Linked DNA regions of Homo sapiens: regions 1, 2 and 4 are each linked to region 3. The links are contacts of gene promoters, found by promoter capture Hi-C in blood cells and fetal thymus (Javierre and others, 2016). All regions are on one chromosome and are shown on one strand. The core of a region is centred on a gene start or on the middle of the fragment in contact, and the rest is flanking DNA. Distances in the headings are between cores, read along the strand shown.

Evidence for each region. The method cuts DNA at HindIII sites, captures the fragments that hold promoters and counts their contacts. A CHiCAGO score of 5 or more calls a contact.
Region 1: a fragment that was not itself captured here is called in contact with the fragment with the promoter of AZIN2 in region 3 in 5 of 17 cell types (neutrophils, M0 macrophages, erythroblasts and 2 more); the score reaches 8.2 in neutrophils.
Region 2: a contact is called between a fragment that was not itself captured here and the fragment with the promoter of AZIN2 in region 3, in 16 of 17 cell types (total CD8 T cells, naive B cells, activated CD4 T cells and 13 more). The highest score is 13.2, in total CD8 T cells.
Region 4: a fragment that was not itself captured here is called in contact with the fragment with the promoter of AZIN2 in region 3 in 9 of 17 cell types (M0 macrophages, endothelial precursors, M1 macrophages and 6 more); the score reaches 10.7 in M0 macrophages.

The regions. Positions count from the first base shown.
Region 1 is chr1:32,917,934-32,921,354 of GRCh38, forward strand. No RefSeq gene overlaps it. Among named protein-coding and RNA genes, the nearest start is that of TMEM54, 18 kb to the left of the region's middle. The HindIII fragment of the contact is 4,307 bases long and covers 1-3,421 here.
Region 2 is chr1:32,937,846-32,940,792 of GRCh38, forward strand. It overlaps RNF19B (ring finger protein 19B), which reads right to left. Exons shown (of 9, transcript NM_001300826.2): 8 at 552-683. Among named protein-coding and RNA genes, the nearest start is that of RNF19B, 25 kb to the right of the region's middle. The HindIII fragment of the contact is 2,937 bases long and covers 64-2,947 here.
Region 3 is chr1:33,079,655-33,083,112 of GRCh38, forward strand. It overlaps AZIN2 (antizyme inhibitor 2), which reads left to right and starts at 1,499. Exons shown (of 12, transcript NM_052998.4): 1 at 1,499-1,640; 2 at 1,734-1,854; 3 at 1,947-2,158; 4 at 2,524-2,700. The coding sequence starts at 2,596. LOC105378635 (a long non-coding RNA gene) reads right to left here and starts at 1,342. Exons shown (of 3, transcript XR_947163.2): 1 at 1,267-1,342; 2 at 545-673. RefSeq lists a silencer at 1,461-1,720. The HindIII fragment of the contact is 16,354 bases long and covers 902-3,458 here.
Region 4 is chr1:32,848,577-32,851,669 of GRCh38, forward strand. The region is part of intron 5 of S100PBP (S100P binding protein); the gene reads left to right. Among named protein-coding and RNA genes, the nearest start is that of FNDC5, 21 kb to the right of the region's middle. The HindIII fragment of the contact is 857 bases long and covers 848-1,704 here.

The DNA.
Region 1 (3,421 bases), core at 489-2,988, 160 kb before region 3:
AAGATCGCTTGAGGCCAGGAGTTCAAGACCAGCCTGGGCAATGTAGTGAGACCCTGTGTCTACAAAAAGTAAAAAAATCTGGCATGGTGGCACACACCTGTAGTCCTAGATACTCAGGAGGTCAAGGCAGGAAGATTGCTTAAACCTAGAGGTCAAGGCTGCAGTGAGCCGTGATTGTACCACTGCACCCAGCCTGGGTGGTAGAGTGAGACCCTGTCTCTAAAAAAATTTTTAAAATAAAAATAATAGTAAAATAAAATAAAAAGACATGTAAGGTTTCTGACTTATTTGCATTTGGGTAAGACCATGGGCTAATAACTGAGTCAGAAGAATTGTAAATTATGGTCCCTGAATCTAGACTTTGATCTTGATTTGCTAGGGAGAGGGAGGATGTCTCTCTTAGCAACGGAAACCTCCCAGTACTCAGATCCCTAAGGCTTCTGTCTTCACCTCTGCCTTGGAGCAATGTGAACACCAGGCATGGGGGTGGGGGCACAGCTGGCTGCTCTCACTGTGTGGAAGGCTCTTTACATAAGGGTCATTTTCCTCTTAGTGGGACAGGTCAGAAGGGCTTGGGAGGGGTGTGTTTCCTGCCTCCCTGCCTTTGCTCCCATTCACTTTAACTTTGACATGAACAGATGAGCAATTTTGTTTTTTTGTTTTTTTTTTTTTTGAGACAGAGTCTCCCTCTGTCGCCCAGGCTGGAGTACAGTGGCACGATCTCGGCTCACTACAACCTCCACCTCTCAGGCTCAAGCAATTCTCCTGCCTCAGCCTCTCGAGTAGCTGGGATTACAGGCAACTGCCATCATGCCCAGCTAATTTTTGTATTTTTAGTAGATACTGGGTTTCACCATGTTGGCCAGGCTGGTCTCAAACTCCTGACCTTGTGATCTGCCCGCCTTGGCCTCCCAAAGTGCTGAGATTACAAGCATGAGCCACCGTGGCTGGCCAAGATGAGCATTTTCAGTCCTGCAAAGCACACGATCATCGGACACTGAATCAGCTTGGATTGTTGGCTATGGGCAGCCTCTCTGAGCAGAGCTGTGGGAGCACAAGCTCAGGGGCCAGGCTGCCTGGATTCAAGTTCATAGCTCAACGGCCATCTAGCTGTAAGACTTTGGGCAATTATTCTGTGCTTCAGTTCCTCAAATGTAAAATGGAAAATAAAATAGTACCCACTTATTTATGTTATTTTAAGGATTACATGGGCCGGGTATGGTGGCTCACGCCTGTAATCCCAGCACTTTGGGAGGCCGAGGTGGGAGGATTACTTGAGCTCAGGAGTTTGAGACCAGCCTGGCCAACACAGCGAGACCCCCATCTCATTTTATTTAAAAAGAAAAGAAAAATAATAAATGAATTAATATGTGTAAAGGTCTTAATATAGTGTCTGGCACATAGTGAGTGTCTCATAAATGTTAGCTTTTTTTTTTTAGACGGAGTCTTGCTCTGTCGCCAGGCTGCTGGAATGCAGTGGCGCGATCTCGGCTCACCGCAACCTCTGACTCCCTAGTTCAAGCGATTCTCCTACCTCAGCCTCCTGAGTAGCTGGGACTACAGGCACGTGCCGCCACGCCCAGCTAATTTTTTGTATTTTTAGTAGAGATGGGGTTTCACCATGTTGGCCAGGATAGTCTTGATCTCCTGACCTCGTGATCCACCCACCTCGCCTCCTAAAGTGCTGGGATTACAGGTGTGAGCCACCGTGCCAGGCCAAATGTTAGCTTTTATTATTATTTTCTCTGCAAAATTTGTCTATTTCTGGACTCTGAATTGAAGATTTGGGAAAATAGCCAGCACATTGACGTATTTCTGTGAAGCCCTCTAAAGTTCCCACCTCTGCTGGGTGCATGATCTGAGTTTCAGGACACTCTGGATGTGCAGCTGCATCTCAGGGTACACCCGCCTCCCAGCCTGGGATTGGGAAATCCTCACCATTCTATAACCCACCTCAACTCAGCCAACTCCAAGTGTGAGGGGCCAGCACTAGGAGTATCCCACTTCCTGTATTAGTCAACTTCTTTAGTTACAGATGACAGAATCCTAACTGAAATGGGCTTTGGATAAGGGGAAAGACATTTGTTGGATTATGTTACTGAAACGTTCAGGGGCTTTAGGCATGGTTAGATCCTGGCATTAAAATGATGTCATCTAGTGTAATCAAATGGTGTTTCTTTCTCTTTCTTTTTCAATTTCTCAGCTCCACATTCCTCTGTGAGTTGCAATATTAGGTAGTCTCTGTTCTCTGGAAGATTCATGCTTACATCTTCTCAGCTTAGGAACCCCAGGAGAAAGCAGTCTCTACTCATTTGGAATTCCAGGCAATTCAGGTTTGCTTTGGTTGTGTTCTTTAGCCTTGTAACATCTCAGAGTGATGTCACATGTGGCCTCAGAGGACTGAAACCGCACAGCAAGGAAGGGGAGGAGAAGACTGATATTTATCAGCCATCTGTTTTGGAACAGGCATTTTATATCTTCTCATTCTGAAGACCATCCCTTTTGAGAAGGAAACTCGTTCTTTTTTGTTTGTTTGTTTGAGACAGAGTCTCACTCTGTTGCCCAGGTTGGAGTACTGTGCCTCAATCTCAGTTCACTGCAACCTCCGGGTTCAAGCGATTCTCCTACCTCAGCCTCCCGAGTAGCCGGGATTACAGGCGTGCACCACCAAACCCAGCTAATTTTTGTATTTTTAGTAGAGGCGGGGTTTCACCATGTTGGCCAGGCTGGTCTTGAACTCCTGATCTCCAAGGCCCGCCTCAGCCTCCCAAAATGCTGGGTAATCCCAGGCATGAGCCACTGTGCCGGCTACTTCTTTTTTTGATCTAGCTATGTGATTCCCAGAAAAATCAAGGGCCACGTTTGGGTATGTTCTCGAGCTCCTTTAGGTATGCAAGGAAGAGCCAGGCTCAGAGGACTTTCAGTGATGGTGGCTACAATAAGGACACAGAGGAAGTGAGGTTATTGGGGAAGCCCTCTCAGCAGCGTCCAGCAAGTCCCCGGAGAACAGGAACTGGGATAGACTTGTGCTCTGGCCCCATGCCCTCTGGGCATGTTCCCAGCATCGATGTCTCCCATACCAGACAGTCTCACACAGGCATTGGCCTCCATCACATCCAGCTTGTCCAAGGCAGCAAATGGCTCGGGCCCAAATCCTGTGTCCAGTCAGCTACAGTGAGGTTGGCAGGGCTGGCCTCATTGGACTTACGTGACCTAGATCACAGTGATTTCATGAAGCCAGGTCAGCTCAGGTCCACTGGCCTCAGGAGGCGACTGAGGGAGCTGTAGGCACTCGGCCTCGTGGTTTTTATGTCTTCCTCCTTGTGCCTTCGTTTCCTTCTTTGTCGAATGAAGGCGTTGGACTGGTCGATCTCAAAGGTGCTTTCAATTCTGGCTTTCTAGGAGTATATTATTATTATAG
Region 2 (2,947 bases), core at 282-2,781, 140 kb before region 3:
AGCTTCCAAAATTCAACTAAGGGTCAGAGCCCCATGCTAGCTTACTCAAAATAGAAAAGTAAAAGCTTTTTACTACCATGCCACAAGTAGAAGAAGCCAGAATACCTACTAGTGGGAGTACCACAATCACACCATCCCAGATACACCAGTTTCTCAAAATGAAAGAGAAAGAAGCTATGGGAATCCTATCAAGCAAAGGGCAAGCAGAAACCCTAGACTTGAAGACATCAATGAACATCAATCTAGCTCTTTAAGTTCCATGTAATTATACACTGTTGCAATAGCCAAGAAAGACAAAAAAAAAAAAAAAAAAAAGAAAAAATACATAAAAGGAAGAAAGAAAAGAAATCTCTAAAAATCAAGCGCTAACAAGAAGAATCAAGAGATGCCAAACACTCAAGTACCAAGAACTTGCTCAAATGAATTCACAGGTTACACTATATATCCCAGGAGATGGTACATACAGCCCTAACATGAGGCATTGAACTTCTGAAGACCTAGTACCCAACGAAAAAATGCAACCTCTCCTGGACATCTGACTGTTCACATACCTGTCCTGTGGGTTGTAGGAACTGATTATGGAACCGGCCATAGCACGAGTGCTTGCGTTGTCACTAATTGCACCAAGACTGGCTGTGTCTTTGGGGAAAATTTCCTTTTGGACATCGGCTTGAACTTCTAACCTGTGTAAAGAGGGGACGTTCAAGTTAATATGAGACCTGGGTATTCCAAGACAGTCTGCTTCCTGGCACACATCTCTTCCATTACTCTCTTGCAAATTGTGGTTGTCTGTCTGATCTTCTCCAACTGTCAAACAGCGCAAATAGATGCCCATACATTTTTTCTCTTAAATATCTATTGAAATCGTCCCCTCCTTTCTATCCCCACAGCTACTGCTGAACTTCAGGTTTTCATCATCTCCTGCCTGGATGACTAAAACTGGGCTCCCTCTCCAGTAGCCCTTAAGTCCAAGTCAAACAACCTCTAGAACAGTGCCAGTGTGAATAAAGACCCAATCACTCTAACAATTCTCTAACTCTTGGCTCCCTACTGCCAACAGGCATTAAGGTCTTCCTGATCTGCCAGGAAGCTCTCTGTCCAGTTCTATCACTCCCTATAGATCCGAAATCATAGTCACTCTGAATTCTTTCTTTCTTTAAATACCTATACATTTTATACTTCCATGACTTTGCACATGCTATTCTGTCTCTCTAGAAATTTCCTTTCTCTACCAGACAAACTTATACTCAGTCCTTAACAACAAAGGAACTATCACTTCCCCTCATTATCCCAGCAAACCATTCACTTCTTGCTAAGTACTCCCACAGCACCTGCCTACTTATTTATTATTATTTGTTTTTAGAGGGAGTCTCACTCTGTCACCCAGGCTGGAGTGCAGTGGCACGATCTTGGCTCACTGCAACTTCTGCCTCCCAGGTTCAAGCGATTCTCCTGCCTCAGCCTCCCAAGTAGCTGGGATTATGGGTTCCCACCACCACACCCAGCTAATTTTTGTATTTTTAGTAGAGATGGGGTTTTACCATGTTGGCCAGGCTGGTCTTGAACTCTAAACCTCAGGTGATCACCCACCTAAAAAAGGTGCTGGGATTACAGGCGTGCGCAGGCCCTGCCTACTTATTATTATGCATCTCTCACTTGTCTGTTAACTCCACAAAAGGAGAGACCACAACTCATACACACTTTACCTTCCCTGCCTTGCACATAATAGGAAATCAAACATTTAACAATCAAATTACCTCCAGGGAATGAGACTGAAGGACATACAGGAGCCAACCTCTTCCCTCCTCTTGGAGCAGCAAACTTTCCCAATAGTGTCTCAGAGCCCATAACTATTGCCTTTCTTGGCTCCAACATCACTTTGTTGCACAGTTAAGTATTTCCTTATAATGGGTTTCACAGTCAAACCCATCTGACTCATTCACTTCCTATAAAATAAAGGCTTTCACAGAACTAGAACAGCTGGACTGGCTAAGCTGCAGTTTCAGCAAGTCAGTCTCCAATTATGTCTGTCTGCTTATTTACAGGGGTGTTGGTTTTAAGAAAGCACAGCAGTGAATATGCCAGCATGTGGGGGCGGGATCCCCTGATAAGAGACAACCAGAGTCATGAGATGCACAGACGGGTCAGTAGCAGCCTGCAGCTGCACATTCAAGCAGCTTCCATCCTACTGCCTGAGCCTTTGCTTTGCTGCTCCAGCTTCAGGTGCCCTTCAAAAATGTGCCAAGGCCCAGGGAAATGAGGGAATGCAATGGAAAGTGCACAGTGTCAGAGACCTGGCTTCTAGTTTCAGGTCTGCCACAGAATCACTCTGAGTTGGAAGAGTCTTTCAGAAAGGGCTCCTACTTAGGTGGTTGTCAGATGCTGGTTCATGCAACGGCTGTGCTAGAATTACCTGGGGAGCTTTTGCAAAACACGGATCACCCCCTAGGTGCCACTCCAGGAAATTCTAAGCTACTCATTCTGGGATGGGTCCCTGAAGTCTATTTTTAAGAGGCTCCCAAGTGATTGACAGGCACTCAGGTGGGAGATCCAGTCCACCTGCCATCTGTTGCTTGAATCCTTCTTATAGCCAAATAGCCATCTGGTCTCATTGTAAACATTTCCAGGGATAGGCAGCTCAGTATCTACTAAAGTAGCCTTTTTCCTCTTTGGGCTTTCATGTTGCTTTTCCCTATATTCTCTATACTGAACCAAAATTAGTTTCCCTTTAGCTTCTGCCAAGTCATCTTAATCTACCTTTTGGTATGAGGCATAGAAGTCTAATCCTTTTCACAGTTGAAGGTCCTTTGGATAGCTGAAGGCAACCATCTCCTCTACCTTCCTATCCTGCTTTGTTCTACCTTTACCCCTCCCTAGGCCTTTCTTCTCCGTTGCATTCAACTGCTTCTCAGGCAACATGTTATGCTCCTCTGAAAATATACACTCT
Region 3 (3,458 bases), core at 249-2,748:
CACTGCACTCCAGCCTGGGTGACAGAGCCAGATCTTGTCTCAAAAGAGAAAAAAAAAAAAAAAAGCCCACAGCCTAGCAGGGGACATGAAGACATATGGTAGACCAAAAGCCCTTTGGCTTCATTGATTTGAAATGCTGCCTCCATTGTGTACCAATCTCCAATGTATATGGGACTGTTGTAGACCCTGTTCTGTTTTACCACTGTCTCTTCCTGCTCCAGCACCATACTGTTTTAAAGACTGTAGTTTTGGCCGGGCGCGGTGGCTCACGCCTATAATCCCAGCACTTTGGGAGGCCGGGGCGGGTAGATTACTGGAGGTCAGGAGTTCAAGACCACCCTGGCCAATATGGTGAAACCCCATCTCTACTGAAAATACAAAATTAGCTGTGCGTGGTGGCATGCGCCTATAATCCCAGTTACTTGGGAGGCTGAGGCAGGAGAATCGCTTGAACCCAGGAGGCAGAGGTTGCAGTGAGCTGAGATCGTGCCATTGCACTCCAGCCTGGGCAAAAAGAGTGTCTTGACTGTTCTTGTACACTTACTTTTCCAGATGAACTTTTATATCAGCTTTTGAGTAACACAGCTATTGAATCTTCCTCAGCATTCTTGTCTATGCCAGGCACCAGGCTCTTGAGCAGGGTATTCAGTCCTTGCCCTTGGGAAATCACAAACTAGATGCAAAGTGTAACCAAACAAGAAGTGTAAAATAACAACAGGAATCTCACGCTATGGGTAACAAGAACCAAATGAGTGAGGGGTCCAGACAGACTAAATGCTGTGTTCCTTGGGGCCAGGCAAGTCATGGAAGGTTCAACAGAGGTGACATTATACAGGACTTTGATGGGTGAGCAGCAGCTTTCGGTATAGAAGAAATGCTTTGAGTTGAGGAAGTCCGGGAAAGCTTCTTGGAGAAGGAGACACATTTCTATTGAGAGATGAGTAAGAGTTTGCCGGGTTCACAGGATGGGATAAAGGGAGGGATTGCCCTGAACTGGGAAAGTCACAAAAAGGTTCTCTGAAGACATTTTAGATGCGTTTTGAGTTGGAGTCGGGGAAGATGCCTGGAAGAGGCAATTAAATAAAAAGAATTTTATTACAAAAGTAATACAAGGACATGTCATTGGAACCGGGTTTCGAGAGATGAGTGAGCAGTTCCTGACGCAGACAAGAGCTGGACCACGAAGTAAGTTGAGGCAGAGGCAGAAAAGGCTTCCTGGTCCTGCCCACTCTCTAAGACCTAAGATGCAGGGTCTAAGTGTCTCACCTGCGTGGCGGCGGCCCTGTAGTTCTGACTTCCAGCGTGAGGTAGCCACCGCCAGGCCTCCGGGGGAGAAGACTACAGTAAGGGCGAGCAGAGCTGAATGCTTTATGTCGGAATCGACCAATGGGATGGCGGCACCCGGTTGCCAGGGCTACGGCCAAGCGGAGGTAGGGCCTCGGCACTATGGGCGGGGCCTGGGCGGGGTTATATAAGCCAGCGGCGGGCGGAAGGCGGGGCGTGGGGGTCTGTGGCTGCTGGGCTGGCGGGGCGCAGGCCGCGGGACCCGAGCCCGGGGAAGCGAGAGAGCGGAGGCGCCGAGGATCCGATTCACTCCCTGGGGAGACCTATGGGCCGAAGCCGTGTAAATGCGTTTTAAGGCGAGTGCGGAAAGTGGCCTGGGGAGCCTCGGGGAGCGGACGCCCTCCGCCCTGGTGCTGACCTGCCTCCCTGCCCCTTCTGCCTCCTGTCAGCAGAGGCCTCGGCTCCGCAACTGCCACTCCTCCTCGGGGTGTTGCACAAGTTTCGAGGTCACCGGCGACCCCCCCTAGCAGCGCGCCTGGCTCTGGCCCCCGCGAAGGAGGACGGAGTTTGGTAAGGGGCCCTGGGGGTTGGGGGGACCTCAGCCCTGCACTCTGTAGGAGTCACTCGGACAGAAAAAACCTCGGCCTTCCGTTCTCTCCCAGGAGCTTGCGGCCCCCACCCACCGCGTGGCGTCCCCAGGCACGCCTAGAATTCTAGCACCTCAGGATCAGTCCAGCCCCCATTTACAATTGGGGAAACTGCGGCTCCGAAAGGGTCAGAGGGTACCCGAGGTCAAGCAGTAGAGAGCGGACTCGAACTTAAGCTCTTGCTCTTAGGCTGAGACGCCTTGATGTGGCCACCGGCTACCCTCTAGGTGGGCGTGGTCAAGACTGGGGGCGCCCTGGAAACTTCCCCACCCAAGTTTCTCAGATTTTCTGTTCCATCTCTCTCTCACTCTTTCCTGAAATCCAGAATTTCAGAACTGGGAAGGCTCTCCAAAACAATTCATCCATTTTACAGAGGGAGCAACTGACTCGGAGAGGCAGTGACATTTGGGCATACGGTGCCTTGTCTCCGTCTGAAATCCGGGATTCTTGACTTTCTCCACCCTTGCCCAGTGAACCCCGGGCTTGTGCTGGGGGCGGGTTGTGACGGGATTGGGATCCCTGGCCTCGGGAGGCGAGTGGGGCAGCAGAGCCGGCCCCCCAGCGGTTCCCTTCATCTCCCCTCGCCCCGCAGTGTGTTGCATACTTTCTAAGGCGGCGGCTGCAGCAGCGGCTCCATCCAGCCCGTCAGCTCCTCCTGCAAGGCATGGCTGGCTACCTGAGTGAATCGGACTTTGTGATGGTGGAGGAGGGCTTCAGTACCCGAGACCTGCTGAAGGAACTCACTCTGGGGGCCTCACAGGCCACCACGGTGAGGGGCTGGGAATGGGGGTGGGTCCCCGGTCCCCTGTACAGATCAGCTGCCTCCTCAGGAAGGGTCCCTAGGGCCCTCATCTTATCCTTTCGCTTATTTGGTACGCAATCCTTGCTATTTGCAAGAGAGGGGCTCAATTTATCCCCAATTCTTTGTCCTTGCCCCCAAACCTGCCCCTCCTATGTTGCCTTTTTACCCAGCCCTCCAAGGTCAGAAACGGGGGATTCCTTTCCTGCTGCCCCCTCTCCCTCACCGCCCACATCTAGGCATTACCAAGCTCTGTGAATTCTGCCTCCTTAAATAAGCCTCCAGTGTGCTTATGTGGAACCTCGCTTTCTAGTTCAGTCTTCCTCTCTCCAAAGGCCCCCTGATCTCCCGGTCTCATGCCACCCCCTCCAAAGGTATCATAGTCCTGTTCAAAATCTGAATTTGGCAATTCTCCACTGCCTACAGGATCAAGTCAGAGCTTCCCTGCCTCCATAGCCCCATTCCCAGCTTTCCCCACAGTATATATTATGCTCCTTCGGAGCTGAATGACTCAATTTGCATTTCCCAATGATGCTGTGTGCCCAATGATGCTATTACCATGCCTTTGCCCAGGCTGTTCCTTCTGCCTGCAGCATCCTTCTCTCAGCCTCTCCCCTCTTTACCCCTTTCTAGTCATTCCTTGCTTCTCATCAGTGTTGCCTTTCCTGATCGCCCCAGGCAGATTTTCTATTTTCTTTCTCCATGCCCCTGCATTGCACCTTGTAGAA
Region 4 (3,093 bases), core at 26-2,525, 230 kb before region 3:
AGTCTCTGTTCTTTGGTCATGTGCCACACTTGATTGAGTTAGGGTCATGTGGGTGGTAAAAAGTATTATGTCCTATAAAACCTGTCAGAATTGGCATAGCAGGTACTCAGCATTATCCGTCCTCCTCCATTATGATATAAAAATTGATTCACTTTAAACTTACTAAGAACAGTTATTAAACTGGATGTTTCCCCAAAACCAGTCACCTTCATATTTATAGATTAAGATTTAGATGAATTGTTGACGTCATTCCTGAAATATTGGGGGTTTTTCCCTCCTTTATTTCATTCTTAGTCACAAAACAAAGGACAGTCTTTACCACCTTTTTGCCACAACTTAAAATAAACCCATGGTACTGATTGTTGGTCCAAGAAAGCCCATCTGTTAGAGACTATGAAGAGAAGAGAAAATTCAAATGTTCCCATTCTTGTTAGCATCTCTAAATTTGGAGGAAGATGAGGTTCAAACTATAAGCTAAAATGAGGTTTTTGGATTATTAGCCCCACCTGGGTTTGAATCCTGGCTTTCCTGATTTACTAGATGATAGATGAGTATCTTTTCTTTCTTTTTTTTTCTTTTTTTTTTGGAGACAGTGTCTTGCTCTGTCACTCAGGTTGGAGTGCAGTGGTATGATCATGGCTCACTGCAGCCTCCACCTCATGGGCTCAGGTGATCCTCCCACCTCAGCCCCCTGGAGTCGATGGGACTACAGGTGTGTACTACCACACCCGGGTACTTTTTGTAGAGACGGGGTTTCACCATGTTGCCCAGGCTGGTCTTGAACTCCTGGGCTCAAGCCATCCGCCTGCCTCGGCCTCCCAAAGTGCTGGGAAAGTATTTTTTTCTAAGCTTCAGTTTACTTGTGAATAAAATGGAGGTTATAGAGTTTGCCATCTGTGATTGTTAGAATTAAATTGTAGGATACATGCAAAGCAGTTAGCAAAGTACGTAGCACGTAAGAAGTGCTTGATAAATGTTAGCTCCCATTATCTCTAGATCATTAAGTCTTATTCATAATAAGAGTTAGGCTAGTCTAACAATAAGTTAGTTATTAGTGCTAAGGAAAATTAAAATTTTTTGGTACATGAGCTGAGATCTAATTATTGAGCCATTGTTTACAAGAGACATATGGCTATATGATTTTTACTTTCTAATCTCAACTATGAAATGTTGCTCCCAGAAAATTTTTTAAGGAAAGTCAATCCTATGATAGTTTTATATTGTTGGAATTCTGGCTTTGTCATTAGACATGTGACTTTGGGCAAATTAGTTAACTTTTCTGTGCCTCGGTTTCTTTACAGTTTTATATACTTTTGTCTGTAAAGCGGGGAAAATACCTTATAGGATTGTTGTAAAGAATAAATGAGTTGATATATATAAACTAGCACATAGGACAGTGCCTTTATTTATTTATTTAAACAGGCTTGATATATAATGTTATATAAATTGCTGCTGCTGGATTTGATTCCTAGAAGTTAAATATTTGAATATTAGGCCCCTTTGGCTAACTGGCTATTCTTCTCATCATTTAATGTGAATAGATATGTTTTTAGATTTATTATCTTTAGTTTCCATTGCCAGATTAATTTTCTAAAATGCAGGTGATAAGAAATGAGTGAGCTGAAGGACATGTTCTATAGATAATCTTGTGGTTCCATTTTGATGGACACAGAATTTCCATATATTGCTAGCCCTCCTTTGTGAAGCTTTGGTAGGAAAAATGTATCTTGAAATTTTTATAAAGCTGATTCTCCCCTCCCCTGCCTCCCACTGAAATGTCCTTTTTGGGTGACCACAGGGAGTGGAGTGCTAGCGAGGTGAAAGTGGGGTATTGGAAAGGCAATTTGAATTGAGACCTTTGATTTTAGCTTTACAAATCCAGCAGGTAAGGAATTTTCTAATCAAGAGTTACTTCCCTTCATGAGGAAACTCATTTCTGATTTATTTTTCCTTCTCAAGGAGTGACAGTAATGCCTTTTCTTTCCATGAATGAGATTGAACATTGTTTTTATCATGTTTATTGATCACTTGTAATAATTTTGCAAGTTGTCTATTCATGCCCTTGACCTTTTTTAAAAAATAAAGAGACTGTAGATAAAGGACATTAAACTTTTGCCAAGTATGTTTCAAATATATTTTTCATTTTGTCAATTATGTTTCATTTGGTCGTGCTTTTTTAACAGTAGAGAAACTTTTAATGAAATCTATAAATTTTTCCTAAAAAGTGTTATGGTTAGAAAAATATTTGAGTGCCATAAAATGTCATAGTTTATGTGTGGATGGATCCATTTAATAAACGTTTTTCCTTAAAATTTCACAGGATTTGCAGAGTCTTTGCAAGCTAACATAGACCTGAGGTGCTAACATCATAATAGCTACCACTCACTGCACACACGCTGTGTGCCATAGCAATGTGCTAGGTCTTTTACGTTCAATATTCCTAAAACTCAGCTTCAAGCTAAATTGTATTATCTGCTTTTCATAGATGAGTAGTGAGCCCTGAAGAAGTGAAATAATTTGCCCAGGGTCACAGAGCTAATTGATGGATTGGAATTTTAACTCAACTCTGCCTAACTCCAAAGTATACAGTATACTTTCTCTACAAAGCTCTACTTTTTGAGGCTTCAAATAAATTACATTTATCCTAAAAGTGACATTACTTTTACTAGAACTTGAAAATATGAGTCTGTAGCCTACTGAGACTGCTTTTGATTCCCGAAAGCACAGTAGATAAGGTAATGAAAAACATGTAAACGAGCTGAAAAGTCTCCACTGTCTAGGGCTTTGATTTTCAAAGTGTGCTTCTCAGCTGGGCATAGTAACTCACGCCTGTAATCCCAGCACTTTGAGAGAGCAAGGTGGGTGGATCACTTGAGGTCAGGAGTTCAAGAACAGCCTGGCCAACATGGTGAAACCCTGTCTCTACTAAAAATACAAAAATTAGCCAGGCATGGTGGCAGGCGCCTGTAATCCCAGCTACTTAGGAGGCTGAGGCAGGAGAATCACTTGAACCCGGGAGGAGGAGGTTGCGGTGAGCCGAGATCACACCACTGCACTCCAGCCTGGGTGACAGAGTGAGACTCCATCTCCCAC